Regions from separate parts of the Homo sapiens genome. Here all the other regions are linked to region 1. The links are contacts of gene promoters, found by promoter capture Hi-C in human tissues and cell types (Jung and others, 2019). All regions are on one chromosome and are shown on one strand. The core of a region is centred on a gene start or on the middle of the fragment in contact, and the rest is flanking DNA. Distances in the headings are between cores, read along the strand shown.

Evidence for each region. Contacts are between HindIII fragments. The study calls those that stand out against the background at their distance.
Region 2: a contact is called between the fragment with the promoter of SCNM1 here and a fragment that was not itself captured in region 1, in 1 of the 25 tissues and cell types used here (spleen).
Region 3: the fragment with the promoter of VPS72 here is called in contact with a fragment that was not itself captured in region 1 in 1 of the 25 tissues and cell types used here (dorsolateral prefrontal cortex).
Region 4: the fragment with the promoter of SEMA6C here is called in contact with a fragment that was not itself captured in region 1 in 1 of the 25 tissues and cell types used here (dorsolateral prefrontal cortex).

Annotation. Positions count from the first base shown.
Region 1 is chr1:150,571,052-150,577,916 of GRCh38, forward strand. MCL1 (MCL1 apoptosis regulator, BCL2 family member) reads right to left here. Exons shown (of 3, transcript NM_021960.5): 3 at 3,507-6,440. The coding sequence ends at 6,324. It overlaps ADAMTSL4-AS1 (ADAMTSL4 antisense RNA 1), which reads right to left and starts at 3,501. Exons shown (of 4, transcript NR_104133.1): 1 at 3,073-3,501; 2 at 2,608-2,770. RefSeq lists an enhancer at 6,817-6,865. The HindIII fragment of the contact is 4,214 bases long and covers 1,280-5,493 here.
Region 2 is chr1:151,160,980-151,167,615 of GRCh38, forward strand. It overlaps SCNM1 (sodium channel modifier 1), which reads left to right and starts at 5,165. Exons shown (of 7, transcript NM_024041.4): 1 at 5,165-5,224; 2 at 5,492-5,562; 3 at 5,955-6,043; 4 at 6,142-6,239; 5 at 6,347-6,435. The coding sequence starts at 5,174. TNFAIP8L2-SCNM1 (TNFAIP8L2-SCNM1 readthrough) reads left to right here. Exons shown (of 7, transcript NR_144937.2): 2 at 5,492-5,562; 3 at 5,955-6,043; 4 at 6,142-6,239; 5 at 6,347-6,435. LYSMD1 (LysM domain containing 1) reads right to left here and starts at 4,923. Exons shown (of 3, transcript NM_212551.5): 1 at 4,100-4,923; 2 at 757-1,121; 3 at 1-41. The coding sequence starts at 4,279. RefSeq lists enhancers at 4,405-5,110, 4,864-5,143, 5,111-5,817, 5,164-5,213. The HindIII fragment of the contact is 12,820 bases long and covers 1-6,636 here.
Region 3 is chr1:151,188,462-151,194,667 of GRCh38, forward strand. It overlaps VPS72 (vacuolar protein sorting 72 homolog), which reads right to left and starts at 1,736. Exons shown (of 6, transcript NM_005997.3): 1 at 1,544-1,736. The coding sequence starts at 1,660. RefSeq lists enhancers at 1,711-1,780, 1,821-1,880. The HindIII fragment of the contact is 20,238 bases long and covers 1-6,206 here.
Region 4 is chr1:151,144,616-151,150,620 of GRCh38, forward strand. SEMA6C (semaphorin 6C) reads right to left here and starts at 2,016. Exons shown (of 19, transcript NM_030913.6): 1 at 1,818-2,016. It also overlaps a transcript of LYSMD1 not described here. RefSeq lists silencers at 1,764-2,223, 2,434-2,493. The HindIII fragment of the contact is 4,441 bases long and covers 515-4,955 here.

The sequences.
Region 1 (6,865 bases), core at 2,137-4,636:
ACAGGCGTGAGCCACCGCACCCGGCCTCTTTTTTTGAGTTTCTTAAGGGGAAGAATGATCTCTTTATAATTCCATTATCTAACAGTTCATGATACATAATAAGCAGTCTACTGTCATGTAATGGAAAAATGAAGACACTCTCAACATCTGGCTGCCTAGAGCTCCTGCTAAATAGACAAGCCTGGGCAATATAGCAAGACCCCATCTCTATGAACAAAACAAAACAAAACACAAGGCATGGTGAGGTACCTGTAGTACCAGCTACTTTGGAGGTTGAGGTGGGAGTATTGCTTGAGCACAGGAGTTCAAGGTTGCAGTGAACCGTGATAGTCCCACTGCACTGCAGCCTGGGCAATAGAGTGAGACCCCACCTCTTAAAAAAAAAAAAATCCTAACTTACCTCAATGTTGAAGATTTCTCATTTCCCAATGGAAAATAACTATTATTCTATGCAGGTCAAGAAGGGAACTGCAAATTAGAAACCAAGTATAGTGTGGGAACAAAAGCTTGCTACGTATATCCTTTTTCTACTTCCCAAGAATTATTAGTAAAGGACACCAAATTTTCGGAGGTGTTTTTTTTTGAGATGGAGTCTCGCTCTGTCGCCAGGCTGGAGTGCAGTGGTGTGATTTTGGCTCACTGCAATCTGGGACTACAGGCGCGTGACCCCATACCCAGCTAATTTTTGTATTTTTAGTAGAGACGGGGTTTCACCATGTTGGCCAAGCTGGTCTCAAATTCCTGACTTCGGGTGATCTGCCCGCCTTGGGCTCCCAAAGTGCTGGGATTACAGGCATAAGCCACCGCCCCTGGCCTTTTTTTTTTTTTTTTTGAGAGGAAGTCTCGCTCTGTCACCCAGACTGGAGTGCAGTGGCATGATCTTGGCTCACTGCAACCTCCACCTCCTGGGTTCAAGCAATTCTCCTGCCTCAGCCTCCTGAATAGCTGGGACTACTAGTGCCCGCCACCAGTAGTGGCGTTTAACCGTGTTGGCCAGGCTGGTCTCAAACTTCTGTCCTCAAGTGATCAGCCCGCCTTGGCCTCCCAAAGTGCTGGGATTACAGGCGTGAGCCACCTCACTAGAGAGGTATTTATTTTGTTTGAGACAGAGTCTCACACTGTCACCTGGGCTTAAGTGCAGTGGCACGATCTCGGCTCACTGCAACCTCCACCTCCGGGGTTCCTCCCAGGTTCACGTGGTTCTCCTGCCTCAGCCTCCCAAGTAGCTGGGATTACAGGCGCCCGCCACCATGCCCAGTTAATTTTTTTTATTTTTAGTAGAGATGGGGTTTCACTGTATTGGCCAGACTGGCCTCAAACTCCTGACCTCATGATCCCTCCACCTTGGCCTCCCAAAGTGCTGGGATTACAGGTGTGAGTCACCGTGCCTTTTTTTTTTTTTTTTTTTTGAGACAGCGTCTGGCTCTGTCGCCCAGGCCCCGGAGTGCAATGGCATGATCTCAGCTCACTGCAACCTCCGCCTCCCGGGTTCGAGCGATTCTCCTGCCTCAGCCTCCCAAAGTGCTGGGATTACAGGCCTGAGCCACAGCGCCCGACCCGGAGAGCTGTTTCTTAATCTGCCTGGAGGAAAATCCCCAGCCCCCAACTTTCCACATACTTCACATAGATAACACTGTAACAACTTTGAAACTAAGAGGGAGAGAATTAAGTTTTCAAATTTGAAATTGAGAAGCCTTTGAAGAGTGGCAGCGTTCTAGAAAGTTCCATGATTGAACAAGTGAAGCAAAAAACTAGGATAGACTCAACTGACCATCTGAACTCCAGGAATTAATAGCCAGTGCTTTGGGCATCTGGCTGGAGCCATGGTACGCACCAGTTGTACAAGTTATTTCATTTTAATTTTGTAAAAAAAAAAAAAAAAATCCTTCGGCTGTCACAACTGTTTTAAATAAAAATTTTGTGAAAAAACAGTATGAAGACGTTGCTCTAGATACAGAACAGGAACTGAGAAAGTCTGGTTGTGTCAAATAAAGCAAAGTGTTGATAATTCTGACTACTGATTAAGGTTACCCAGTTACTATTAAATCCAAGCTTTTAAGGTGCTGAGCAAAGGAACACTGTACCAGAAACGGCTTCACATCATAGCACGTCAATGGGAGCAATAGCACTAACTTAACTCAGGCCAAGACTTGGGCTTGGGTCCTCTGTGGCTGCTACTCTCCTACCACACCTTTGCTTGGGAGTGCACTTACACAGCTTTCTTTGTAATGATACAAAAAGTTGCTGCCTTTTGGTAGTTAGGCTCCAGAAAGGGGCTTCCAAACCAAAATGCACTTTTAAATAGAAATGCAACTGACTGCAGGGAGGCACAGAATCCTGATTGCCTGATTAGCATATGGTGCTCAGGGCTTAAAACCAAGTATGCAAACCTCACATTTGCACATTTCCATGGTGATTCAGCTCACTTTCAAGGTAGCTGAAAATAAAAGCAGGATAGGGGTTTTTGAAATTGACTGGCTTCTTTTTACCTCCTTTTGGAAAGCAGAAGGGGAAAAGCACTGCTGCCAAGAACTTCATCAAAACTCTTTAACTTTAGGTATTATTTAGGTGTTATGATAGAGTAACTGCTGTACAGTACCCTCTTACCTCAAGATCAAGGCTGGGCGCAGTGGCTCAGGTCTGTAATCGCAGCACTTCGGCTGAGGCGAGTGGATCACTGAGGTCAGGACTTCAAGACCAGCCTGACCAACACGGCAAAACCCCGTCTCTACCAAAAATAGAAAAATTAGCCGGGCATGGTGGCGGGCACCTGTAATCCCAGCTACTCGGGAGGCTGAGGTTGCAGTGAGCCGAGATTGCCCCACTGCACTCTAGCCTGGGCAAAAGAGTGAGACTGTGCCTCAAAACAAAACAAAACAAAACATACCAACACCTGGTGATTCAAAAAAATCAAGACAGAGGCTGGGTGCGATGGCTCACGCCTGTAATCCTGGCACTCTGGGAGGCAGAGGTGGGCAGATCACCTGAGGTCGGGAGTTCAAGACCAGCCTGACCAACACGGAGAAACCCCATCTCTACTAAAAATACAAAATTATCTGGGTGTGGTGGCGCATGCCTGTATTCCCAGCTACTCAGGAGGCTGAGGCAGGAGAATCATTTGAACCTGGGAGGCGGAGGTTGCGGTGAGCGGAGATCGTGCCATTGCACTCCAGCCTGGACAACAAGAGCAAAACTCCATCTCAAAAAAAAAATAATAAATAAATAAATCAAGACAGAAATTTTGATTTTAAAGAGGTTTTTGATTTTACTTGGAGGTTTAAGAACTCCTCTAAGTACAGCAGTAATATATTTAATTAAAAACCCAACACCTCTAATTAGAATTGAAGAAAGGAACTGTCCTTTGCTCTAAGGCAAATCAACTTTGTGAGGCTTTTGCTTTGAATTCACCTGTACATATTTGCTCAGCTGACTTCTCTAAAAGGTTTGCCTAAGAGAGGGAAGGAAAAAGAGGCGTCGATGAGAAAAGACCCATATCACACCCTGTATTTGAATAAAAGATTTATTTTTTTTTCTCAGGAAAAACAGAAAGTTAGGGAAACACACTACATTTGACAACCAACATTAATTTGTAGTTGGTCCTAACCCTTCCTGGCACAGCTATCAAAAGTACAGCTGTTTAACCAGAACCAAGGTGTTCACCCCCCACAGAATGTACATGAAACACTAGAGGACTGCATGTTTTTCCCTGAGAGAAGCGTAAGACAAACAGAAGTCAAAAAGTAGTCACTGGGAGCGCCATCCTTCTAAGCAAATCCTCCCTTTCCCTTTTGGAGGATTTGCCCGAACTACGTAGCCAGTCAGCACTTAGACCACCTGCCTCCTCCTCCCCCTATAAACCCACCACTCCCCTCCTCCTTTCCCAAACCACTTGGGGTGTCCTAAGCCCTCACTGCCCCAAGCCCAAAATATCAACTAAGATCCTTGTCTGTATTTCCACAGTCATACCTAATGAATTGGGAAGTGGGGCCCCTAAAAACCAATTCACATCTATGCACTTGTTTCCACTGGATTTGGCAGACAGGCTTTTTTAGTTACCGTAACCAGATCTTAAGATTAATTAAAAACTACATAAAGTGCTTTTAGGTCCTTAGAGATACATGATATAAATAAGCGGCTTATGATCAAGAACGATAAATACATAGGTAAAAATAGCTCTAGCAAAGATGACCTTATGGCTCTGAGATGGGCAGGCAGGGCAGTTCTTCCCCATTACATTCTTAGTCATCTTATTCATACCTATTTTTAAATGGAGTCCACAGACTAAAGGTCATGTTCCGAGACTGAAGCTTTCAAATGACCCTAGTTCCAATATAGACACTTTCTTCAGTTTATCAGTAGCTTTTAAACTCTGAGGTTTAACACAGCTCACCTCTTTCTGTAAATTTAAGTGAGCATACTCCTATACAAAGGAAACTTTAGAGAAAGCCTCATAAAATGTTCTTTCCTCTGAAAATTCCTGAGGGGACTTTTGACACATTGCCCCCAAAGACAGGATAAAACAATAGTTGAAAAGATACCAGTCCAAGGAAAAGGGACTTCCTCCCACCTCTCAATGACTGTTAGTGTCACAGCACCCATGGTATTACCACCTGCTAACAGGATCAAGTTCGTGAAAGATGAAAGGTCTGTGGACTCTTGGTGGGGAGGGAGGGTCACTCAGGTTTCCAGCAGGGGTTTCACAGTGCCAAAATCTAAAAGGGCTAGAAAGAGTTCAGGGATGGCAGGGGAAAGCTGTAGGAATTGATATAAATATCTGTAGAGGGAGCAGAACAATCAGCAATTTCAAGGAAGGACAGGAAATAAAAGGTTAAGTCTGATAGAACAAACATCAAGACTGAAATCCAAAGATGCCAATGCAAAAACTTGCAACAAGGTTTGGGAATCATTAATAGAAACAAAACAGTAAGTATTTGCTTTATTGACATACTAGGCTTAGACCTGTGTGTGTAACAAGCAAGCCTAATAATAGCACCATGGTTAGACTAGCCTGCTTTTCCAAGCCATCATTTTATAATTTATTAAGCAAACAAGGGATCAAATGTCTCTCCATCCACCTGATGTGATCTTTTTATATGCACACAGCTAATGAGTTCCATTCAGCTGAAAATCTTTTAGTAAAAGCTTTAAAGATGAGCCCATGAATTCACTTTAAATTTCACCAGTTAAATTAGGTCAAATGGAAGGAACTCAAATGAGTATTGCCCAATCAGAGCCCATTATTTGTAAGTCATCAGTAACCTTAAAACTCCACTTAGACCTAATTATTGAAAACTTGCATATAATGAAGTGAAAGAATTTCCATTCATCAACCTCTCAATCCCAGGTTTTCAAAGAAAAACCTAAGGAATACTTACCAAAATCAGATAAGAAAATTTAAACCTGCATAGTTATCAGATTTGTTCCACTACAACCAGTCTGCATACAGTTACACATCAATTCGTTCTGTATACACTCTAGAACTGAACAGAACAAAGTTTAGCATAGAAAAGCTGTAAGAAACAGGTTCCTAATTACGGAAGTTGCAAAGTTCAAAAGGGTATGAAAAAAACTAATGTAAATTCGATACTTCCTTCGTTTCAAAGAAATAGACTTTCTGTAAAAATATATACAATTTTTACAAATACATTTACAAGCTGTCTTAAGAATTGAGGATATCCATATTCATAACTAATTACTGAGCCTTCCGTCAAGTATTATTGGTGATAAACTAGGCTAATAAAGTAAGAATCATGGAAACCAAGCCAAAGTATAACAGGTATAAAAGTCCTGAACACTTGGACTTTCTAAGAAGTATACTGGGAAAGCTAATTAGAGAGAGGAAAAGCTTCCCTTGTACAGTACTGAGGCTTACAGTCATAGTTCTATTACTTGTAACTTTTACACAGGTCACTGGCATTCTTAGTGCTTCTCTTAACACTACAGTAAATTAATGAATTCGGCGGGTAATCAATTCTATGACTTGCCTGGCTACTGGCCACTTTCCTGTTCTCAACAAGGAAATTAAGTCTTTCCACCCTACCATCTTCACTAAATCTAAAAGTCCTCCTCCATAGCTTCCCAAACAAAGTTTGTTTGTTGCTGAAACTGAACTTTGCTTCTTTCAGACAGTGACTCTTCAATCAATGGGGAGCACTCTTCCCATGTATTTATTCTTGTTAGCCATAATCCTCTTGCCACTTGCTTTTCTGGCTAGGTTGCTAGGGTGCAACTCTAGGAAGTTACAGCTTGGAGTCCAACTGCATAAACTGGTTTTGGTGGTGGTGGTGGTTGGTTAAAAGTCAACTATTGCACTTACAGTAAGGCTATCTTATTAGATATGCCAAACCAGCTCCTACTCCAGCAACACCTGCAAAAGCCAGCAGCACATTCCTGATGCCACCTTCTAGGTCCTCTACATGGAAGAACTCCACAAACCCATCCTAGAAAACAAAAAAGAAAAGCACATTTTCAAGTATGGGTTTCTGCTCTCTTACAACACTACTATCCAGAGAGAAGGTAAATTAAAATATCTAAGGTTTCCCCCTAAAGCAATAGTAAACCAATTATTATTCACCCCGGGGCAAAAAAAGAAAATAAGTTCTTCAGTTTCTTAAGCGGGGACCCATGATAATTAAACTTCATTTTACAGTACTATCTTGGTCTTATTAGGATTTATCCTAACAAAAGGACTTCCAGAGTTCCCATGAGGTAAAAGACGAAAACCCTTATTCTCAAATCTCCACCACCTAATATTTCAGTAACGCCTCAATTGCGCAGATCAGTTTTTCTCAACGTAGTTAAGTACATCCTGCATCAGATCTGGGTTTGTTTAAAACGCAGGCTCCACCCCATATCTTCTCCATTA
Region 2 (6,636 bases), core at 3,915-6,414, 590 kb after region 1:
AAGGGGAGCTCAGGTGGAGACCTGCATCCTCCCCAGGTACCCTGCAATTGAGGAAAGGGGGGAAAGAGTGACAGATCAAGGGAAGAACCTGACAATGGGCCAAGTGAGAGGTACATGGAAAGCTATCTTCTAATACATAAGCTGGTTGCTTCAAGACAGTCTCAGTACCCTCTAGATAAATCCTAACCCTAATGCTCCTTCATGGATGATCAGAGCAGTAAAAACAGTTAACTGTCAGCTGGCCGCTGTGGCTCACGCCTGTAATTCCAGCACTTTGGGAGGCCGAGGCTGGCGGATCACGAGGTCAGGAGATTGAGATCATCCTGGCTAACATGGTGAAACCCCGCCTCTACTAAAAATACAAAATATTAGCCGGGCGTGGTGGCGGGCGCCTGTAGTCCCAGCTACTCGGGAGGCTGAGGCAGGAGAATGGCGTGAACCTGGGAGGCGGAGCTTGCAGTGAGCCAAGATCGCGCCACTGCACTCCAGCCTGGGCAACAGAGCAAGACCCCGTCTCAAAAAAAAAAAAAAATAGTTAACTGTCTGACTCCAATAAGAACACAGAACCCAGTTTTCCACTGCCTCTACCCAGGCCAGCAGCCATCACCTCTGCTCATTATCTTGGGGCCACATGGGGGAAAGGTATCACCTTGCCTCTGTTGGCACTGTCCTTACTTACTTGTGTTTGTGGTTAGGTAAGACAGGAATGATGGAGGAGTCTAGGGAGGAACTTATAAGGAACCATTCAAGACTCACCCATTTTCCCCTTTTTTCAGCTTCTGAGCAGCAGCCTTCTTGGACAGGCTGATCTGTGAATCAAGCTTCTTAAGGAAATCAGAGGCAGAGAGGTCATGGATGGGCGTGGGGGTTTCCTGGCCAGGTGTGGGGAGGACTTCACCATTGGCACGTCCTGCTCCTGTCTCTTGTTTCTTCCTCTCAGTTGAGTGTGGCCAAACTTCACTGTTACTTGGGTGTACTTTTTCCTCTCCATCTTTCTCTTCCTCAGAGTCCAAACCATTGAACAGGTCTCTGGGCTCTGTCAGGATGGGGATGTAGAGGGTTTTCTTCAGGAAGATGGAGTCATTAGTATAAAGGCGGTTTGCACGTTTAATCTGTTCCATCTTAAAAAAAAAAGTCACCAAAATTAAGGACAGTAATAATGATCAATCTTACATCTTGAGCTTTTTAAAGTGACTGTACAGAGTCTTCTTTGATTCCATAACAACCAAGCTAAAGTACAAAGGGCTGACATTATTTCTATTCTATAGATGAGTGGTTTTCACACTTTTTGGTCTTAGGGCCCCCTTACATTTTAAAAAATTATTGTGCAAGCCAGGCGCAATGTCTGATGCCTATAATTCCAGCTACTCAGGAGGCTGAGGAGGGAGGATAGCTTGAGCCCGGGAATTAGAGTCCAGCCTGAGTAATATAGTGAGACGCCATTTCTAAAAATTAAAAAATTAAAAATAAATGAATAAATAAATTAATGAATAAATAAAAATGAAGGAACTGAGGCTCAGAGAGGTTAAGCTACTTTCCTAAAATTATCTATCAAGTTAATGACAGAGCTAGAATGACAATCCTGGGTCTTTTCACTGCTTCTGAGAATGCTTTTCACACTATACTATTAACAATGTCATTAATAAATATTTATTTTGACCTATTTATTCATCACTGGACATAGTGACTGGCATCACCATCTATCTGCCTGGCCTCCCAAGGTAGAAACATCAATGTCATCCTTAACTAATACTTGCCTTTCATCACCATACCAAGTGGTCAACAAAACTGCTTCAAAAATCTCTCTCACATCTGGTCTCACCTTCCTACTGCCAAAGATTTAAAATAGACCCTCAGTATTTCTCATCTGGGGTTATTGCAACAGTTTAACTGGCCTTCCTCGCTCTATTTCTACTCATCCTCCTCTTGGCATCTATCTTTCTAAAAAAATAAATCTGATTAACCCACTACCCACCTATGGCTCCGCACTGGCTAAAAGATAAAAACCAAATTAGCATTCAAGGGCTTTCTCAATCCAGCTCCCAAAGGAAATGTCTAGATTAATCTCCCTCTGCCACCTCTACATTTTGCTATCCTGAACTTTTTATTTTTCTTTGAACATTCCATGATCTTTTTCACACTTTATTCATGCTGTTACTTCTGCCTGAAATGCTCCCACCCCCCTACTATCCCATTCTCTGCTTGGAAAACTTGTATTCATCAACTATCACTCCCTTTGTGCTACCTTCTTCAGGGCTCCCAATGCATACTGTAAATATTGCTATAATAATACATAACCCTACTATAATATTATTCACCTCTTTAAATATCTGCTTTGCCTAAACCCTATAAGTCCTTTAAGGGCAAGGATTGTGACTTGCTGTCTCTGTATCCCCAGGAAGTCATTAGCATCCTACAGACCTTGACACATAGCAGGGGCTCATTAATGCTTTATTTAAAAACTATTACTTATAATTATGTAATTATTATCATAATTAGATAATGAAATATAGAAACTACAGATATAGTGTATTCGTATTTTCTTTCTTTCTTTCTTTCTTTTTTTGGAGACAAGGTCTCACTCTGTCGCCCAGCCTGGAGTGTAGTGGCGCGATCTCGGCTCACTGAAACCTCCGCTTCCCCAGCTCAAGTGATCCTCTGCCTCAGCCTCCCCAGTAGGTGGGATTACAGGCACATGCCACCATGCCCGGCTAATTTTTGTATTTGTTGTAGAGATGGGGTTTCACCACATTGCCCAGAATGGTCCTGTACTCCCGAGCTCAAGCAATCCACCCACCTCAGCCTCCCAAAGTGCTGGGATTACAGGCATGAGCCACCACGCCTGGCCCACCACAGCCCCTTTCCAACTGAAATTTAATCTTTTCTGATTTCCTATCTTTGTGTGTGTGTGTGTGTGTGTGTGTGTGTGTGTGTCTCACTCTGTTGCCCAGGCTGGAGTGCTGGAGTGCAGTGGTGCGATCTCAGCTCATCGCAACCTCCCCCTCCTGGGTTCAAGCGATTCTCCCGCCTCAGCCTCCTGAGTAGCTGGGATTACAGGTGAGCACCACCACGCCCGGCTAATTTTTGTATTTTTAGTAGAGACAGGGTTTCACCATGTTGGCCAGACTGGTCTCGTACTCGTAACCTTAGGTGATCCACTTGCCTCTGCCTCCCAAAGTGCTGGGATTACAGGGGTGAGCCACCATGCCTGACCCCTATTCGTTGTTAATACCTTTACAAACTCACCACATTCTGTCACTTGTAATCATTATTTGTGTCCCTGTTCATTTCTCATTAGGCCATAAATTACATGAGGACAGCAACCATATAGTTTAAGTTTCTATCTCCCAGAAAAGTTATCACAGTGCTTTAAATACAGCAAGCATAAAAATGTTGGCTAAATTCAACATTTGTTTGAGTGAGATGGAACAAGAAAACAGGGGCAGGGATAGGGGGAGTAACCCCATCAACTTCAATGCTGTACATTTTTACATCTATCCAATTTCCCCCATGCATGACCTGAAATACTTGGTGTAGAGTACCTGTTTTGCACAAAGGAGGCCACCTTACTGGAAAGAAGGCAGAGCATTGAGGAGGAACCAAGAGCAAGGAGAGGTGGGCACTTTAGGAACTGAGAACTAAAAATCAGCTCTCCATTAGTTGCTGTAAACGTTTAATCACTCTCAACATAAAATTTTCTGTGTGGTTAATAGAGTCAGACAGACCTGTTTGAATCCCAAATCTGACGCTCATTATTTGACCTTAGCCAAACTGGTTAACCAATCCAAGTCTCAGTTTCTTCATCTGCCAAAAGGGAACGATAAATGTATACTTGATACAGATGTGAGGGTGAAATGAGCTAACGTATGTGAAGCCCTCAGCACAGTGTCTGGCATAATAAAATAGGAGCTGTTCCTCTCCGTTGGAATAGTAGGGCAGGACTTGTGCAACACTGTGATGGGAAAACAAAGATAAAGGCAGAACAGAGTGCAACACATTAGGAACATTTCAGGGGAGGTTACCTAGAAGGGCCACTACATTCTTCTCAGGACTAAATCCCTCCTGACTGTTGTCTTCACCCCAATCCTGGAAAACTCACCGTCACCCCATATTTGAGTGCTAGTCCAGCCAGGGTGTCTCCGGGCTCCAACTGATGCTCCAGGCGTCTTTCCCTCACTGGGGAGCAGGCCGATTGCACCAGGCTTCCATATGAACGAGCCCGGCTCCCTTGAAGCAGTCCTGACCCCCCTGGCGGGGGCTGTCTAGACGGGGAAGCCATCTCTTCACCCTGCCAACAGCTAAGGTTGCAACTAGGGGAGGTACGACCGAGACTGCGACTGACAGGCCTGAAGTCTGGGAATGAATATTCAGGGGATTCCTTTCCCCCTCTCTCTTCCCCTGTGTCCCCGCCTCCCCAGCACTACGCCATCTGCCCCCTCCCGGTTTCTCCTCCCTCCAAGCTACTTATCCACAAATCTGTCCCTTGAGTATTCAGTCCCTCCCTAATTCTCCCCTAAGCACCCCTCCGACTTTGGACTCCCCCACAACTCCTCGCTACATTGACCTCTGACCTTTGAACTCTAGAAATAATCCTCAACACTCTTTCCTCAGTTTGCCCCCAAGTAGCCTGGCCTCAGGGCGCTCCAACATCCCAGCTCTCCCCGGTCCCGGGGTTTGTTTGCTAGAGTCAGGAACAAATCAGGCCCACCCCAGGTGAACTGTCGCCGCAGACGAAGAGCGTGAGGATTGCAAGAATTTGTAGTACACCTTCCACTCAGAGATCCTCAAAGGTCCGCTCCGCATAAGATAGGTCACACCCTCAAATTTCGGCTCCACATCTAGGTTGTTGTCCCTCCAAACGCCTCAGATCCGCCAAGATGCAAGGGCCTGGATCCAGTTGAGCGGCAAGGTCTTTGAGAAAAGACTTCATTTCCCAAAAGGCTCCGCGTCTGCGGAGTCGCAGGGCACCATAGGAAATGCAGTTCCCTCCGAGCACCAGAGAGTGGATTTCCGGATCGCGCAATGCATGCGTGGAAGTGCGTCCCCGGAAGTACGGAGGCCGACAGGAAGAGAAGGAAAAAAGAGAAGGCGCTGTCCCGCTCTTGCTACGGTGGCCTGGAGGAGTGGCGAAACCGGAACAGAGAATTTATCACTTCTGGGACTCACAGTCGTGATGTCTTTCAAGAGGGAAGGAGACGATTGGAGTCAACTCAATGTGCTCAAAGTAAGCGTGAGCGGAGAGGATCTGGAGCCGCTTCAGTCGCTCCCTGAAGGTTGGGAAGGAGCTTTGTTTCATTGCTCTGGCAACAACTCGGGGGTGCAGGAGAGAACCAGGCGACTTAGAGCTGTGTAGTGACTCCTTTTTCGGTCTATGATCGCTGTTCTCCCCAGGGTCCTTATTCCATTTCACTCCTCATTTCTATAATTTCACTTCCACCCCTCTCTCCTATCCCGCTGATCCCGTCCGGATTTCTTCCCCTACTCCCTGCAGAAAAGAAGAGTCGGGGACCTCCTAGCCAGTTACATTCCAGAGGATGAGGCGCTGATGCTTCGGGATGGACGGTAAGAGCAAGGAGTGGCTCAAGCCTGAGGGTTCTGCGGTTAGAGGCTCAATAGACTTTTTTTTTTTTTTCCTTTGAGACGGAGGTCTCGCGGTGCTGCCCAGGCTGCCCTCGAACTCTAGGGCTCAAGTGATCCTGCCTCCTCAGCGTCGCGATTAGCTGGGTTTACAAGCGCATGCCACCACGCCTGGCTTCAACAAACTTTTGTTATTAATTAGGACAGCAGGAGTACCTAGGATTCTTTGGCGGCCAGTGAGGACTGGAAGAAGTGGAGATTGGGTCACCAGGGAGTTGGGTTTTGCAAAGACTGCTAGGACAGGGTGGGACCTATGGCAGGGACGGGCCCAACCCTCTTCCCCTGGACCACTTATCCTCTTCTCTACCCCTGCTCAGCTTTGCTTGTGCCATCTGCCCCCATCGACCGGTACTGGACACCCTGGCCATGCTGACTGCCCACCGTGCAGGCAAGAAACATCTGTCCAGTAAGTTAGGGGGAAGACGGGATGGGGAATAAACCCTCGAAATCTCTGCACACCACTCTTGGTGCTATGCTTTTAATTCTGTTTCCCTTTCTCCTCAGGCTTGCAGCTTTTCTATGGCAAGAAGCAGCCGGGAAAGGAAAGAAAGCAGAATCCAAAACATCAGAATGAATTGAGAAGGGAAGAAACCAAAGCTGAGGTAATCAGAGAGTGGAGAGTGTGTTCTAGGCAAGACCCTGCTGCACACACCAGGCTGGAAGGGCGGAGGGCTGAAGGCTCTGACTCTGTCTCCCATCTCCTTACCAGGCTCCTCTGCTAACTCAGACACGACTTATCACCCAGAGTGCTCTGCACAGAGCTCCCCACTATAACAGTTGCTGCCGCCGGAAGTACAGGTATGGGACGGGAAAGCCAGAGGTAGGAAGGCTCAGAAGGAGACAGATGGCTCTAAAAGAGTTTTCCAGTGTGTATTCTGAGGAATACTAGTGTTCTGGAGATGTTACTTAGTGTTTCAAGAAAAGGAGAATTTTGGCTGGGCGCGGTGACTCACGCCTGTAATCCCAGCACTTTTGGAGGCTGAGGTGGGTGGATCACTT
Region 3 (6,206 bases), core at 486-2,985, 620 kb after region 1:
AATTCTGATGACTCTTCTCAGTCCTCTGGATGAAGAGCAAAATTCCTTAACATAGCTCACAAGGCCCTAAAGGATCTGGCCCATGCCTACTCCCTGCAGGCTTATCAATCTTTAGTCTCCTTCATGCTCTGGAGAATGAAAGTAGACTTGCAGGTCCTAGACCAGGATCTCAATGTCTTTACATACTCAGCCCATCCTGCTCTGTGGACTAACCTTTCTCCTTCTCCTGCTTTTCATCAAGCTAAGGTCTACTTTTCAAACTGTCCTCAGCTTAAACATCATCCCTCCAGGGATGCCTATCCTGATCAACAACTTTGGTTCAGATGTATTACCTTAACACTCTTACACCTTGTTTTAGTCCTTATCACACATTTTTTGTTTGTTTTTGAGACGGAGTCCTGCTCTGTCGCCCAGGCTGGAGTGCAGTGGTACGATCTCGGCTCACTGCAACCTCCTCCTCCCAGGTTCAAGCGATTCTCTGCCTCAGCCTCCTGAGTAGCTGGGACTATAGGCGCACACCACCACGCTTGGCTAATTTTTGTATTTTAATAGAGACAGGGGGTTTTACCATGTTGGCCAGGATGGTCTCGATTTCCTGACCTTGTGATCCACCCGCCTCGGCCTTCCAAAGTGCTGGGATTACAGGCGTGAGCCACTGTGCCCGGCCAAAGCCACTGTGCTCGGCCTATCACACAGTATTTTAACTGTTAACCCAGGCAGTTACCCCACTGGGGCATGGAGTATGTAAGGACAGAGCACTGTTTTTAATATTCTGTTTCCCTAGAGCCTAAAACAACCTATTACCGATGGCATGCTCTGGGTACTCAACACATTTAATAAACGGGTAGATTCAACTAATAAAAATTTAGCAAGTGGCAGCCCAGTCCGGACACCTCACACATAATGTTGAACAAAACAGACCATCTCTAACTTTATACAGTTTACAATGCAATAGAAAAGCATAAGCAAGTAAGCAAACCAAATCTAATTGCAAATTGAAATATGTTCTGTGGAAGAAATAAATGGGGACACTTGTTAGGATAGTCAAGGAAGGGTTATCTTCCTGAGAAAACATTTACACTGAGACCTGAAAGCTGAAAAAGAAGTGGGCTAAGCTCCTCTACTTTTGGAGCGGTTCCTTTCCATGTCTCAGGTGAATAATCCAGCAGTGGGCCAACGAGTATACATCGAGCAACTGTCTACTACTATGTGTGTGCCTCGTGTATGCTGGACGTCAGAAGTACAGTGAAAGATGCAACCACGCAAGTATACGGTAGGTTTCTGCCGTTCTCTGTTCTCTGGAGTGCCTCCGGAGAGCTTCTCCGTCTCAGGCCCCTTTGACCCCATCCAGAGCTCTCCCTTCTAGGACTCCACACTATCCGTTCCCCCGCCTCGCCCCCCGGCTCCGATTCACCCACCCAACTCGAGTATCAGCTCCCAGAGCTCCTCTCTATTCCCCGCCCTCTTCTTCTTTGTCCGGGGTTTCTCCCTTCAGGGCTCCTCTTTGCCTCCTCCCCTCCCTTTTCCCAGGCCCGGATCTTGCCTCTGTGAAACCCCCATAAGTCGTCTGGTAGAACTCATCTTCCTCCTCTGCCTCCAAAAGCCCAGAAAGCCGGTTCCCAGCGGTCTTCCGGGGTGCCCGGCCCCCAGCCAAACTCATACCGCCTACCGAGACTGCGCCGCCACCTGCAGCCCCTCACCAGCTCGGTTTTGGGAGCTCGACGCTCGACATCACTACCTGCGGGTGGCCACCAGCGGCGGAAGTCGGGCGTTTACAGGCAGAAGTAACAGAGTGTCGAGAGACTCCCAGTCCCACCCTCTAAACCCTCTTTACTCTTCAGCCTCTCCTACTCCTGCGCGGATGCTCTAGGCCGCTTGCTCTAGTACCCAGCGATCTCCCTTGCTCAATGAGTCCACTTGGTGGTACGAAGACCCCCATAACCCTAAGTCAACACATTTTATTTTATTTATTTTTATTTTATATATATATATGGTTTTTTTTTTCCGTAGGGACGGAGTCTCGCCTCGCTCTGTCGCCAGACTGGAGTGCAGTGGCACGATCTCGGCTCACTGCAACCTCCGTCCCCCGGGCTGAAGCGATTCTCCTGCCTCAGTCCCCCGAGTAGCTGGGATTACAGGCGCCCGCCACCATGCCCAACTAATTTTTGTATTTTTAGTAGAGACAGCTTTCACCGTGTTGGCCAGGCTGGTCTCGAACTCCTGACCTCAGGTGATCCGCCCGCTTCGGCCTCCCAAAGTGCTGGGATTACAGGCATAAGCCTGCGCCCCCAGCTCACATTTTCTTTTAGAAGAGGTCATTCTCTCCGCTCCAGTCCATTTTCTACACTGCTGCTAGTAGGAAACTTTCTAAAAACCCACGTTTTGCCACTCCTGTCCTCAAACATTTTTAATGGCTCCACATCATCTACAAGATAAAGTCAAAAATCCTTGAGGAAGGAAGCATAGTATTGTGGTTAAAAACACAGCCATAGACATTTATCCAAAGGAAAGGACATAATTCAACCTGAGGAAGCCAATTTAGGAGGAAAAAAAAAAAGGAAATCAGTATATCCAAGAGACGTCTGCACTCCATATTTATGCACCCCCATATTTATTGCAGCACTACTTAGAGTAGCCAAAATAGGAAATCAATCTCTGTGTCCAACAACAGATGAATAAAGGAAATAGGGTGTATATACACAATGGAATACTTTTCAGCCATTAAAAAGAAGAAAATCCTGTCATTTGCAGCAACATGGATGGAACTGGAGGACATGTTAACTGACTTAAGCCACGAACAGAAAGTTAAAACACTGCATGTTCTCACTCATATGTGACGCTTTTAAAAAGTTGATTTCATAGAAGTGAAAGAACAGAGGATACTGGAGGCTGGGAAGAGCAGGGGGAAGGAAGGGACAGGGAAAGATTTGTTAAAAGACACAAAATTGTGGCTCACACCTGTAATCCCAGCACTTTGGGAGGCCGAAGGGGGTGGATCATGAGGTCAGGAGTTCACGACCAGCCTGGCCAAGATGGCGAAACCCCATCTCTACTAAAAATACAAAAATTAGCTGGTCGTGGTGGTGGGCGCCTGTTATCCCAGATACTCGAGAGGCTGAGGCAGAGAATTGCTTGAACTCGGGAGGCGGAGGTTGCAGTGAGCCGAGATCGCGCCATTTGCTCTCCAGCCTGGGAAACAGAGCAAGACTCCGTCTCAGAAAAAAAAAAAAGACAAAATTGGGCCTGGCACAGTGGCTCACACCTGTAATCCCAGCACTTTGGGAGGCTGAAGCGGGCAGATCCCGAGGTCAAGAGATTGTGACCATCCTGGCCAACATGGTGAAACCCCGTATCTACTACAAATACAAAAATTAGCTGGGTGTGGTGGCGCGCACCTGTAGTCCCAGCTACTAGGGAGGCTGAGGCAGGAGAATCGCTTGAACCCGGGAGGCAGAGGTTGCAGTGAGCTGAGATTGTGCCACTGCACTCCAGCCTGGCAACAGAGCAAGACTCCATCTCAAAAGAAAAAAAAAAAAGACACAAAATTACAATTTTTTTTGAGACAGGGTCTCTATTGCCCAGGCTGGAGTGCAGCAGCAGGATCATGGCTCACTGCCTCCTTGACCTCCTGGGCTCAAGCTGTCCTCCCACCTTGGCTTCCAAAAGTGCTAGGATTACAGCTGTGAGCCACCACACTGGCCCCCAATTACATTTGTTTGTTCGTTTGTTTGTTTGTTTGAGATAGGATCTCACTTTGTCACCCAGGCTGGAATACAGTGATGCAATCACTGCTCACTGCAGTCTCGACCTCCTGGGTTCAAGTGATCATCGCACCTCAGCCTCGTGGGTAGCTGGAACTACAGGCTCGTGTCACCACGCCTGGCTAATTTTTTGTACTTTTTGTGGAGATGAGATTTCATCATGTTGCCCACGGTGATCACCTGAGCTCAAGTGATCCCCACTCCTCAGCCTCTCAATGTGCTGGGATTACAGGTGTGAGCCACCTCGCTTGGCCCCAAATTACATTTAGATAGGAGGAATAAATTCTAGTGTTCTTGGCCGGGTGTGGTGGCTCACACCTGTAATCCCAAAACTTTGGGAGGCTGAAGTGGGCAGATCACCTTAGATCAGGAGTTTGAGACTAGCCTGGCCAACATGGCGAAACCCCATCTCTACTAAAAATACAAAAATTAGCCGAGCACGTTGGCGGGTGCCTGTAATCCCACCTACTAGGAGGCAGAGGCAGGAGAATCACTTGAACCCCGGAGGCGGAGGTTGCAGTGAACCAAGATCGCACCATTGCACTCTAGCCTGGGCAACAAGAGTGAGACTCCATCTCAAAAAAAAAAAAAAAAATTCTAGTGTTCTATATCACTGGGGGATAACTATGATTAACAATAATATTTTCAAATAGCTAGAAGAAGGATATTGAATGTTTGTGCTGGAGACAAATAAATTATATATTTGTGAGGCCAGGCACGGTGGCTCACGCCTGTAATCCCAGCACTTTGGGAGGTTAAGGTGGGCAGATTATTTGAGGTCGGTAGTTCAAGACAAGCCTGACTGACATGGTGAAACCTTGTCTTTACTAAAAAGTACGCAAATTGGCCAGGAGTGGTGGCAGGTGCCTGTAGTTCCAGCTACTTAGGAGGCTGAGACATGAGAATCACTTGAAACCGGGAGGTGGAGGTTGTAGTGAGCCAACGTCGTGCCACTGCACTCCAGCTTGGATGACAGAGCGAGACACCATCTCAAAATAAATAAATAAATAAATGATACATTTTTTAGATGACAGATATACTAATTATCCTGATCTGATCACTAAACATTTTATGTATTGAAACATCACTATGTGCCCCATAAATATGTACAATTATGTGCCAATTAAAAATTAAAATAAAATAAAACAACAACAAAAAGAGAACACAGCTTTAGAGCCAGCCAGACCTGAATTTGAGTGTGAACTTTAAGGTCTTTTAGCTGTATGACTTTGGACAAGTTGCTTTACTTCTCTGAATCTCAGTTTTCTCATCTGCAAAGTGGGACTGATAATAATACCTATCTTTTAAGGTCGTAGAAGATTAAGAGATATAATTATTGGCCAGGTGCCATGGCTCACGCCTATAATCCCAGTACTTTGGGAGGCCGAGGCGGGTAGATCACAAGGTCAGTAGTTCGAGACCAGCGTGGCCAGTATGGTGAAACCCCATCTCTACTGAAAATATAAAAATTACCCAGGCATGGTGGCGGGTGCCTGTAGTCCCAGCTAGTCGAGAGGCTGAGGCAGGAGAATAGCTTGAACCCAGGAGACGGAGGTTGCAGTGAGCCAAGATAGCACCACTGCACTCCAGCCCGGGCGACAGAGCCACATTCTGTCTCAAAAAAAAAAAAAAAAAAAAAAAAAGACAGAGAGAGATAATTCTTGTCAACTGCTTAGCACAGTGTTTAGTAAGTGCATAGTAAATGTGTAGTAGGTGGTAACTACTACATGGCATTCAGTATTCAGATCCTTCATAATTTAGCCTCTCCCTGTCCTTCTAGTCACACCTCCTGCGACATCACTACTCCAGCATCTCTCCCCTAACACCCAATTCTCTGTCATGCCTCTATGCCTTTCTTTCTCCTTAGAATCCCTTTCCTTTCTTTTCTAATTTTATGGGAGAGTGGAGTCTTCCTGAACACCCATTCCTCTCTTTCCAGGCACAATTCATATAACTATGGAGATGATGTCTTCTGTAGTCTCTGGAATAGTTCCAATCTCAAATATTGTCTGTTGTAAAGACTGTTCTCATTTTTTATTCTGAAAATATGGTTATCAAACCATAGCACTTACACAAACTTTATGATGGCACCTATTACATTGTATTCTAATGATTCACATGTCTGTTCCCCTCATTAGTCTGTGATCTTTTTGAGGGCAGGGGCTTAATCTTTTCCTTTTTTTAATTAAAAAAAATTGTTTTGGAGACATGGTTTTGCTCTGTCGCCCAGGCTGGAGAGTAGTGGTGCAATTTTAGCTTACTGCAGCCTTGACCTCCTGGGCTCAAGTGATCCACCCATCTCAGTTTCCTTAGTAGCTGTGACTACAGGTGCGCACCACCACGCTCAGCGAATTTTTGTATTTTTTGTAGAGATAGGATTTTTGCCATGTTGCCCAGGCTAGTCTTGAACCCCTGGGCTCAAGCAATCTGCCTGCCTCAGCTCCC
Region 4 (6,005 bases), core at 766-3,265, 570 kb after region 1:
GCTTTATGCCCAGAGATGCAGGGGAAGGGGATGGCCCCTTTCTAGAAACTGCTAGAACTACAGGGCTAGCCTTGGCAAAGGGGGTCACTGGGAGAGTTTGTGGGGCATGGCGACCACTCCCATGTTAAGGCCCTCAGAATCCAACAGCCTTCTTAGCAAAAGCGCCTTAGCTAGGGACAATAGAGGCTAATTTGCATCTCATTTACATGCTCTTCATTTCCAGGCAAAATGATCTGATAGCAAGCACCCTCAACCCTTTCCTTCCTCCCTGAGAGAGCAGGCTGTGCCTCCCTTCCACTCAGTCTACACACACACACACTCACACCCCACTTTAGGCTGGATTAGTCCAGCCTCTACAAACACTTGGCTGGCCTTTGCATTGGCCTTCTAGACTCAACTATGATACACCTTTAAGAGGGCTTCTTGTAGCTGTTTCTGGGAAGCAGCATCTGGTCAGCTCCTCAACTCCTGGCCTGGAGAAAAGATCACTCTGCCCTGGAAGAATCCGAGCTGCTTCACACACCCCATCTGAAGCACATGGGAGAGACCTGGCCGACTCTCCCCTTTCCAGATCCTCCCGTTGCTGGGAAGAGGAAACAGCCCTTCTCTCTCCTGGCCCCGAAGCCACCTCTGGGGAATGGCTGGGGTCACAGCCAGAGTCTAGGAGAGCTGTGGAAGGGATGGAGAAGGGGAGACTGGGCTGGGGACAATAGCAGGAAGCCTTTGGGCTGGTCGCCCGCCCCAGTCCACCTTCCTCAGAGGGAGCAGGGTCGCGCCAAGGAGCCTGTGGAACCGGAGCTTTCCTTTCTCCAAGCCATTTCCCCCACTCTTAGCTCTTAGCCCCACACTCAGCACCTACCCTCCTTCCCACCCAACCCCCAACCAGGACAATCCAGGTGTCTAAAGCCTCGAAAAGAGGTGGGCCTAGGGCCAGGGGCTCGACCTGTCTCCCCCTCACCGGATCCGGGGCTCCGAGGAGGGGCCGGTAGCAGAGTCTGGGCCGGGACCGGGTCCCAGAGCCACGTTAGCGAGAGGAGGGGCTGGAGGGGCCTGCAGGCGCAGACGAAGAGGGGATAGGAGCGGGGGTTGGGGAGCGGAGGCGGGTCTCCCAGGCCAGGGAAACAGGGCCAGAGGCTGAGAACCGACGAGGGCGGGCCTGAGGCCGGCGCTCAGTGGGGACCGTGGGCTCAGGAGGCAGTTGCCAGCTCGGATGTCCTCCTTGGGAGACCTCAGTCTAACAAAGCCCCGGGCCGAGCGGGCTGAAGGAAGGAGATAGGCGCTGGGACCGATGTTGCTCGAGGGCCCCATTCGCCGCCTCTTTGCACGAGCCAACCCTTCAGAGGGTGCTCAGATTCCGGCTTGCACAAGGACAGAGGAGCACCCGTGACACAAAGTCCGGAACGATGCGTCCCTCTTCCCATCCCTTCAGGGGCGTCAGGAGGGTCTAGTTCTCCGTGGGTCTCGGAGCCCTAGTTTCCTTGCTGGGAAAGCAAGGGGCCAGGTTTTCCACGCTCTCTACGGAGCGCGCCTCAAATAATCCCTTTTCGCGCTTCCCAGTCCAGCGGGATGCGACTCGACGAAAGCCCAATTGAACGAGGTGCCCAGACTCTGCTCTCACCAGTACAGTTACGGGGCTCGGCCACTGTCCCTCCTTCCTCCCTGCACCCCAATTTCGTTGACCCTCTCCGTCAGCCAGGCACACCGGGCGCCGACACCTCCCTGGTCCCCTAGCGCTTCAGAAGCTTGCCCCCCGCCGGCCGCGCCCTCCTGCTCCCTCCCCGCCTCCCCGCAGCCCCTTCCCTGCCCGGGGTACTTGCTCCAGGATTCGGGTCAGCGGGATCGAGATCGCCGCGGGCGGCCAGCGGCCACGCGCTGCGCTGAGTTCGCAATCCGTGGTTGTGCTCAGGCGAGATGCGATGAGCGTCCGAATTGGATGGTGCTTGAATTTGGGTTCCAGGGCGCTGTCGGGAGAGCCCTGGGTCCAAGTCCAGCCGCGGATCCGCGGAGGAAAACAATGCGACCGCCCGGGGCTCTGGGCTCGGCCCCAGTGGCCCCGCCCGCCTCCCAGCCGGGCCCACCTCCTGCCCGCCTTTGGGTCGCCGCGACTAATCCCGCCCTCGGAGGGCGGCTAGACACCGCCTTCTCGTCACCTCTCCGCCAATAGTGCTGCCCGGGGAGGGGCGCCAGGAGCACCGTCCACCCAGAGGGCCAGGCCGGGAGGCTGAACTGGAGACCAGAGACAGACGCGAGATGGAGAGACCCACGGACAGTCGCCGACACCGGGCAGAGGAAGAAATACATACAGAAGCAGAGACAGGCTGGCACAGGAGAGGCTCTGGGGAGAAATTTCCCAAGAGAGGAAGAGGAGCTGGGAGGAGAAACAGACAGGAAACCTGGGAGCCTCGCGGGGCTGGGCTGGGCTGTCAGAGCCTGCGCGATCCGTCCTCCCTTCCCCTCCTATACGGCTTGGGCGACCTTGCTCCCGAGGGCGCATCCCGCATCTCCCTGACTCTGCCCCCAACTCTCTGTTGCTCCTCTCTATGCGTTGTCCCTCTGTCTCCTTATTTCTCCCCGTAGGCCTCCTCTGGTTCGTCCTGACCCGGATAAGGAGGCCTAGCATGCGCGTGGGGGCTGGAGGCCTGGGAAAGGAAAGGAAGGTGTCAGCAGGAGGTTTCCCTTGTTTCCATGATCTCCTCCCCTCCCACCTCTACAAAGCAGCATGAGTTTGGGCCACTATGGCAAGAACTAGCTAGCAGTCAGGCTGTTGGGTAATGGAAGAGGGCAGGTGAGAGAGGCTGAAGCCAAAACAGATGTGGAAATCAAGACTAACTGACTCAGAGAAAGGCACAAAGAGTAGCAACGCTAAGACTTGATAAAGTAACCCACACAGCCTTCCTGCCCCACAGACATACGTCCCACCTTTCCTCAGAGGACCGTGACATCCCTCCAAACAGCAAAACTGCCCCTTCTCCCTCCCCACCCTTCATAAAGCCCCTGGGAATGTCAGTGAGGAGGAAGAATAAACTACTACAGACAGGATTGCTTGGTACCTTGGTATTGCCTGGTAGGATTCTTCTCTATGTGGGGCTGGGACAAAAGACATTCTCAAAATTCTCCAGGAAAGTGGGTGGCCTGGGAGACACTGGCATTCTCAGATAGTTTTATCTGACTGAACACTTCTACCCACATCTTGGACTCTGGACTAGAGGAAAGGAGGGGGAAGGGGTTTGCCACTTTAGGCCAGCCTTAACTGGACTGTGATCAGGGAGGGGAGTATCAACAACTAGGCTAAGCCCCACAGCGAGTACACAAGAGACCTAAACATACACACACATGTGCACACGCACATACAGAGAAAGAGAGAGACAGAGAGACAGATTTAAGGCCAGGTGAACCAGTAAGATGAACAGTAACTCAGTAAAGTCAGATCTAAAAAAAATAGAAGAAGATAAACAGGGACAATATCTACACAGAATTAACGGCCGAGGGATCTTGGGTCCAAGGCAATTCAACAAACTGTCAGACAGTTGGGGTTGTTTTAAAGGCTGGAAAGAAATTTTCAGAGAAAGACACCTCAAAATACAGAGGCACTGAGAGGTTAAAAGAAATCTCCTCAGCTCCTAGCACAGGGTTTAGGTACTCAGATACATGCTTATGGAATAGATTAGTGAGTGGGGATTAAGGTGTAATTCATTTAAAGTTTTAGGACCCAGCTCAAATCTCAGTTCAATCCAGTAAGTATTAAACACTTACTTGAGACACAATCTACTACACAATCCACTGTGGGTTGTGGTTCCAGACTTTAAGAAAATGATAATATATTTGAATTAAAATAAGATTTGCACATACTAAACTATTAAAAAGTCTAAACTATTAAAAAGACAGTACTAAATATTAAATATTTAATAGTACTAAACTATTAAAAAGACAACACCAAGTCTCAAAAGAAAAGCTACATTGAACATAAATTTCCAAATGTGCAAAGAAGACAATAAATATTCTCCGAAGACTGCACAGAAAGATGCTGGATACATTTTATCATGAAGGACAGGAAAACTTTGGTGGGAGTTGGCTTGGTGCAAAAGAAGAAAATGTTCCCGAGGGACACAGCTTCAGCAAAAGCTTTTACTTGGTTAGCAAGGAGCCTGCAGCATGGATAAAAAAAAGGTCCTGTGAGGCTGGTGTGTGGGAAAGGCACTAGTTAGGAGCAAGGGGAGGGAAAAGGGGAAGACAAATTACAGAAGGCCTGGAATGACTAGGTGAGCTGGTTAAAATCATCTGACAGGAGTAGGACGTCATTTTAAATTCTTGAAAAAGGGTGCAACTTGTATTTTTTTATTTTTTTAAGCAAGAAGACAGAGACCTACTAGCAAGTAAACAAGGTTTAAAGGTGAGGGGAGAGGGACAATCAGACAAGGGTGATGGGAACAGATTTAGAAAGAAATACATGAATCTGAGAGCTATTTTGAAGGACAAATCAAAATGACTCTCTTGGCTGGGCGAGGTGGCTCACCCCTGTAATCCCAGCACTTTGGGAGGCCGAAGTGGGCAGATCACCTGAGGTCAGGAGTTCTGAGACCAGCCTGGCCAACATGGAGAAACTCCAGCTCTGCTAAAAATACAAAAAAAAATTAGCCGGGTGTGGTGATGGGCACCTGCAATCCCAGCTACTCAGGAGGCTGAGGCAGGGGAATTGCTTGAACTCAGGTGACAGGAGATTGCAGTGAGCCAAGATCGTGCCACTGCACTCCAGCCTGGGTGACACAGAGGGAGACTCTTAAAAAAATAAAAATAAAAATAAAAAACCTCTCTTCCTACTCCCTTAGTGTTTTGAAGAAAATCACACAGTCCTGGCCGGGCGCAGTGACTCAGGCCTGTAATCCTAGCACTTTGGGAGGCTGAGGCGGGTGGATTGCCTGAGCTCAGGAGTTCGAGACCAGCCTGGGCAACAACAGTGAAACCCCGTCTCTACTAAAATAAAAAGAATTAGCCGGGCGTGGCGGTGTGCGCCTGTAGTCCCAACTACTGGGGAGGCTGAGGCAGGAGAATTGCTTGAACCCAGGAGGCGGAGCTTGCAGTGAGCCGAGATCGCACCACTGCACTCCAGCCTGGGCAACAGAGCGAGACTCCATCTCAAAAAAAGGAAATCACACAGTCCCACAGATTGGATTGGAAAAGCACTCTCTTCCAATCCCCAGGGAGATATTTCAAACTTCCTCCTTTTTTTGCAAGTTCCTTTCCTTACCATTTCCTTGTTCATCTCAGGAAAACCCTCATCCGTCTTCAGAGAAAACAGAGATAATAAAGTGAGAATTCCACCAACTTTTTGCTCCCTACAGATATACTTACCTGCATCATGTCTCTCTCATCCTAGTGAATGCCATCCGTATCACCTGTCGAAGGTTCACCTATGACTTTACTGTAAGTTGTATGCAGTCCCTGGTTGTCTATCTTGCTCAACACTGTATCCTTTCCTTGTAGCATAGTGCCTGCACACAGAAAGTATTAACTTAAAAAAAAAATAGAGGCAGAGTCTCATTGTGTTGCCCAGGCTGGTCTTGAACTCCTAGGCTCAAGTGATTCTCCTGCCTCGGCCTCTCGAACTGCTGGGATTACCGGCGTCAGCCACCATTCCCAGTCTTAACCTGTCCTTTTCTACTGATATTTTCCCCTTAGCATATACACATGCTCAAGTAATTCCCATGATTAAAAGGAAAACATTCCAAACTTTCTCTTGATCCTTGTCTGCACCCAGTCATCACTCGATTTCTCTTCCCTTCATAACTAAGCTTCTAGAGTTACCTATACTTGCTATATCCATTTTCATGATTCTCATTCTCAATCATTTTAGTTTTTGTCCCCATCAGTCCACTGAGATTGCTCTCATTAAGGCCACCAACGACCTCCTGGTCACATTCAATGAACAACTCTTCAGTCTTTATCCTTTTGCCCTCTCTGTGCCATTTGACCTGTTGACTCCCCCCTCCTTGAAATGCTTTCTTCTT